Linked DNA regions of Homo sapiens: region 1 is linked to region 2. Evidence: promoter capture Hi-C in human tissues and cell types (Jung and others, 2019). All regions are on one chromosome and are shown on one strand. The core of a region is centred on a gene start or on the middle of the fragment in contact, and the rest is flanking DNA. Distances in the headings are between cores, read along the strand shown. Region 1 overlaps LNCNEF (lncRNA neighboring enhancer of FOXA2). Region 2 holds the start of CST4 (cystatin S).

What was found. Contacts are between HindIII fragments. The study calls those that stand out against the background at their distance.
Region 1: a contact is called between a fragment that was not itself captured here and the fragment with the promoter of CST4 in region 2, in 1 of the 25 tissues and cell types used here (dorsolateral prefrontal cortex).

What each region holds. Positions count from the first base shown.
Region 1 is chr20:22,595,416-22,598,115 of GRCh38, forward strand. All of the region lies in intron 1 of LNCNEF (lncRNA neighboring enhancer of FOXA2), which reads right to left. Among named protein-coding and RNA genes, the nearest start is that of LNCNEF, 11 kb to the right of the region's middle. The HindIII fragment of the contact is 3,832 bases long and covers 1-2,700 here.
Region 2 is chr20:23,687,604-23,690,303 of GRCh38, forward strand. CST4 (cystatin S) reads right to left here and starts at 1,435. Exons shown (of 3, transcript NM_001899.3): 1 at 1,139-1,435. The coding sequence starts at 1,366. The HindIII fragment of the contact is 7,573 bases long and covers 1-2,700 here.

The sequences.
Region 1 (2,700 bases), core at 132-2,631, 1.1 Mb before region 2:
TGTTCTACCCACTTGTGACTCTCCCTAGCCAAGAGCCAGACCTTGTCTTCAATTCCATGGCTTTCCCTTCGTTTGAAGGTTAAAGTCAGCATTTCACTTTTACTGCTGTTAATAACTCCCAACTTTTCCATATTTCCATTTTTTTCTAAACTCTTTACTACATGCTAACACTGCCTTCATTTTTTCTCTGCCCTCTTCCTGAGGTCACTTGGTCCTAGAAGCCTCAGGTTCCAAATGTTTTTGCAACCTCCCCTTTACCCTCCCCGGTAACATGCTGTTCACCATTCCACTTTCTGATTTCCTTTTCTGTTCCTTTAGTAGTCTCTGCACTTCCCCTCCTCTCCCATCTGTAAAGCCATCTTTCTTCCAAGTGATGTTCTCCAGGTGACCTGAATCTGGCAGAAGCCTCCTCCATCCATCTTTTTAGAAGGACCCTCAGTTGCCAGAGCCAGTCTGACACCTTCTTCCATACCAGCTGCTTCAGACCAGCCTGGGGGCCTGCTCTGGGGGTGGAACCATTGTCAAGTTTCACCCATCAGCTAAAAACATGCCACTTGGATTCATTGCAGGTAACCAAGAAAGTCATACTCTTTAAGCTCACCAACATAGTTACATAGTTCATAAAAAATATTGCTCCATTTTCCAAGGGACTTTCTTAGTTGACGAGTGGGAGCAGAGGTCCCCATAATCAGCAGCTGGTTTGCTCATTGCTGGGAAACACAGAAGACAGGTCGGTCACTGGACAGGGGGTGCAGAACCCAGCGCTGGAGTGCACAGAGGTAGGTTTTGAGAAGGAGTATGCACTTCTTAACTTTCCAATAGCATTACTCAGTATTTTCTTTTCCTTAAATAGTACTTTAGCTCACTTATCAGATTTCAACTTACTTTTACACACTAAAGTATGACTTGAGGTCTTCCCAGGTTCACACGTATAGAATGACCTTTTCTTTTCAGCTGCAGTGCAGTGTGTATATTCCATAGTTCTTTAGTCAGTCTATTACTATTGGTGTCTCAGGTGAGTTCCCCAGAAGCAGAGCCTGAGGAGAGGACTCCTGTGCATGAGAATTACCAAGTCACTGTGCTTCCCAGAGAGTTCTGTAAGGGAGTGGGGAAGGCAGGGAAGCCCAGTGTGGGCCATTTCAGGCTATGCCCAGCAGAGAGGAGCTTCAGACTGGTCCTGAAGGGGACTCAGGTGTGTGAGTGAGGCTCAGCGCTGCACCCATCATTGGTTTAAGGGCCCTCCTGGGGGCAGGGGTCTCACACATCCCAGGCACGTGAAGCTGTCTATGAGAGTATACCAGGTGGCTCTGGGCACCCAAGAGCAGTCTATGATGAAGAGCTTGCAGGTGCAGAAGCTTGCTGAAAGCCCCACAGCAGATGGCCCTCTCCTTTTTAATTGCAGCCACAGTTGTGACAGGGGTGTGACCTAATGTTGGCCTTAGCTCTTATTTAAAGGCACGTTTGTTTGTTTCCCAGAGAAGCTCAGCCAATATTCATTTGACAAACACCAAATCCCTAGTATGCCCCATAAGCTCACATCGCAGCTCATGGGGCAGCATGAATGTCCTCCAGGAGTTCACACAGCTGGGAGTAAACCAGAAATAGGTATGAACACAACAAAATTCATTATTGCAGCAGCAAGACTGTGCACCACTGAGATAATAGCAATTCACTCTTCCTTGGCTGGAAGGGAGGGTTGCCTCTTGCCTGAGGGGCTGATATTTAAGCCAAACACTGGAGGAAAAGAAAGTTTGCCAGGCCGAAAGTGACACAGGGCTCCTGGAGTTGGGGTTGGGGGGCAATGCCAGCACAAAGACAGGGGAGCAACTGGGCAGCGGGTGTTAGGGCAGGAGCTTCCTGGGAAGGGCAGCGAGAACAGCTCAGAGACAAGAAAGAATTGTTCTGAGGAGCTTTCAGGCTAGGGGGTTTGGACTTTTCTCTTGGGAATGGGGAGTCATAGAGTGTTCTGAGCAGGAGAGAAAAGCCCAGGATGGGTTTGCAACAGCTCCTCTCTCAGTAAGGTGGAGGGAAGTGAGATTGAAACCAGAATCACTATTCAGTAGACACTGAGGTGTCACTGGGCTTGTTGGTCTGCTGCTGGGAGTACAGACCACAAGCTGCCTTCAGCTGTCAGCCCTTTCAGGGGTCAACTCAACTGCAGAGAGCACTTCCCTTGAGGTCATGGTCTTTTCTAGGGTGGCCCAAATCCAGTCCTGTTGGATGAGAGTCTACAAGGGTCTGGCCATCTCGGCCAAACTCAGATAACTCTGAGAACTATACCAGCTCTGGGGCTCACCATACGGTTGGCCAAGGCTGCTTTGGGGACCAGATTCTCCCTCTGCTCACTCCTGCCTTCTGTCCGTCTCCCCAACCCCTGCCAATTGACCCCACTGACTGTAAACACACCACATGCTAAACTCCAATTGAGAGGCTGCCTTTTTGGAGCCCAGCTGAGACAACAACTCAGGAGGCTGTAGCACTACCCCAATAGAGAGGATGGGTGTGGGAACATCCCCTCCAGTTTCCACACTCAGTGGAGACAGCTCAGTTCTGGCAGGAGAGATCTACCTCTCTGGTAGATCAGGCCTCTGATGGTTTCTCCAGAAAACTCCAAACCCACACAGACAGGAAAGTGTCAGGTAAAATGAAAACAAAACCTGGGCTCAAAAGTTCTGTGTCTTAGTTTTGGCTCTCCCAGAA
Region 2 (2,700 bases), core at 185-2,684:
ATGGGGCCGCCCAGATGCCACCATTTCAAGTGTGAGGTTCAAGATACGTTTCTCAAGTCAGCAGCACACCTGAGTGTCTTACAATTGCAGATTATAATTGAACCCTTTCCCTGCACAGGGCCTCTCCCAGACACTACGTGGCAGAGCTGTGGAGAAACCTGGGATGAGGGACTCTTTGGAACCAGGAGGAACTGCTGAGATCCCTCGAGTATCAGTTTACCCATGTATAAAATAGGCTTCCAGGTCTGATGGTCTGCAATGCCCTGTGCTTCACTCCAAGTTACTGTCATGCTTAAGAGGGAGATGCAGGCCAGCGGGGACCATGGCACCAGGGAGTGCACCTCCTGTGCAGGGTGAGGGCTCCAGCTGACAGCTGTAGGAGGAGAAACGGGACTGGTCTGGATTCCTTTGAATTTCTAGAAGGTGGAGGAGCTCTAAAGGCTGTGTCACTATTTGCTGCTCTGCCATGGGATGCAGGTCAAGCTGGGCCCAGTTGCCCTGCTGAAGCTCACTCTGGACCTAACCCCTCCTCTGCTCTGCTGGGTGACTGCTGTCCTCATCTGGCTGAGGTCTAACTCTGCATCAGCTCGTAGAGGCAGGGCCAGGCGTGCTCCACCCCAGCAGGGACTCAGCCATCCTGGCCTGCAGGGGTGGGTCAGCCTGCCTGAGGGTGAAGGCCACTAGCCCTAAGGGGCTGTGCCCAAGGGCATGACTTGGGGAAGGAAGAAGGGCTCTGCAGAACAGGGAGCCAGGTTCCCATGTGGCCCCTGAGGAGAGGACTCAGGGAGGAGAATGAGCCTCACCGCCTGGATCTCATCCTGAGCAGCATCAAGCCCACCCAGAGTCAGCACAGTCTCCATCCACACCTGCTGGACGCTGGGAAATGCCACGGTCATGGTACAGACACAGCAGCTGCTGCAGGTTAAAGGAAGCTGCAGCACTTCCTTTAACTGTCTGCAGTGCATGGACCGGGAGCATGCTTAGGCATGAAGGGCATCAGCGGAGAGTCAGAGAAAGCTGAATGAATCTGAGCATTAGATCATGAATGTGTCAGTGTTGATTTGCTTGGAATGCTCTTGGGGGTCCGGCAACAAACCAGGCTAGGGCTCAGGACCCCTCGGGTGGAGGCAGCACCCACCTGCTCCCTGGCTCGCAGCACCTGCAGCGGGCGTCTGTAGTACTCATCTTCGGTGGCCTTGTTGTACTCGCTGATGGCGAAGTGAAGGGCACGCTGTACCCACTCATCATTGAGGTCTGCATCATAGATGCCACCTGGGATTATCCTATTCTCCTCCTTGGAGCTCGAGGCCAGAGCCCCAGCCAGGGTAGCCATCAGGAGTAGCAGGGTACACAGAGGCCGGGCCATGGTCTCCTCAGAGGCAGAGCACAAAGCTGGAGCTGCAGGAGAGGAGGGTGAGAGCCCGAGGCAGGGAGCCCAGACCAGCAGGCAGGTGTGCATTTATCCTGCTTTGGCAGCCCAGCCCCACCCACCTCCATGCCCTGCCCCTGACTCCTCCTCCTCTTTCTGCCCATCCCCTCTTTCTCCATCTCTCTTTTCACTCCCCCACCACTACAAGCTCCCTCCCTGCCTAAGTTCCCCCTGCCCCTCCCAGGCCTCCTCCTCCATCTCCCCCTCCTCCCCACTCCAGTCCTCACTGCAGCCTCCCTGAGCCATGCCTCTCTTCCCCAGTGCTCCCAAGCTTGAGTCACCCAGGTCTCCACAGAGGTGACACTGGTCCTTTGACTGTGAAAGCAATGTGACTTCCTGTTTGCTCAGAAAGGGGAAAAATACAGGGCTTGGCCTCCCGGGGTCTTCAGATATCAGAGGCTTCCAGGAGCACTTGGTCACGGTCTCTGAATCTCTGGAACAGAGAGGTTATTTCAGAAGGTTCCAGAAGACCCTGTCCACACCCTAATATGGAGAATTTCTTTGCCAAATTTAAGGGAATTAACCTTTTTGGAAAAGGTCACTGGCTTCTGTTTTCATAACTCATTATTCAATAAACAAACCTATCACCAGTTACTGCCCATGCCAGGAGGTCTAGGGCTTGAAGACGGAACCTGGATGATGAGCCATAGAGGTGACATTGCAGAGCTGCTGCCCACAGAGATGTGACATGAACCCACAAGCATTTGAAAATTTCTAGTAGATGCATTTTAAAAGATGAGAATAAATGGGTGAAAGTAATGTTTAAAATATTTATTTAACCTAATATAGCCACAATATTATTTCAGCTAACGGGAACAATTATTAATGAGATCGTTTATGTGTGTTTTTTTTTTTTGGTTTTGTAAATCTTTGAAATTCCCTGTGTATTTTTTACACTTAGCCCAGGAATCATTTTGGACTGGCCCCATTTCAAGTGTCCTGTGGCACATGTGGCTGGTGGCTGTGGAACTGCACAGTAAATTCCTACACAGTGTGTGTAGAGGATGGTAGGTTACGATCAACAATTAGGATCAGGGAGTTATACTCACTCTGTTGGAAGTGAAATAGAACAGGGGCTAGAGAGAGACCACTGGACCCTGGTCAGGGTGGTCTCTATGAGACTGGAGAGGTTGAGCAGCCCCAGGCAGCGGGGAACAGCCAGTGCAAAGGCCCTGAGGTGGGGTTGGGACATGCCTGCTCCAGGAAGAGGAAGCTCCTGGAGGGGATGTGAGCAAGGGAGGAAACCACCTGGAGTCTCACGGTAACTGTGG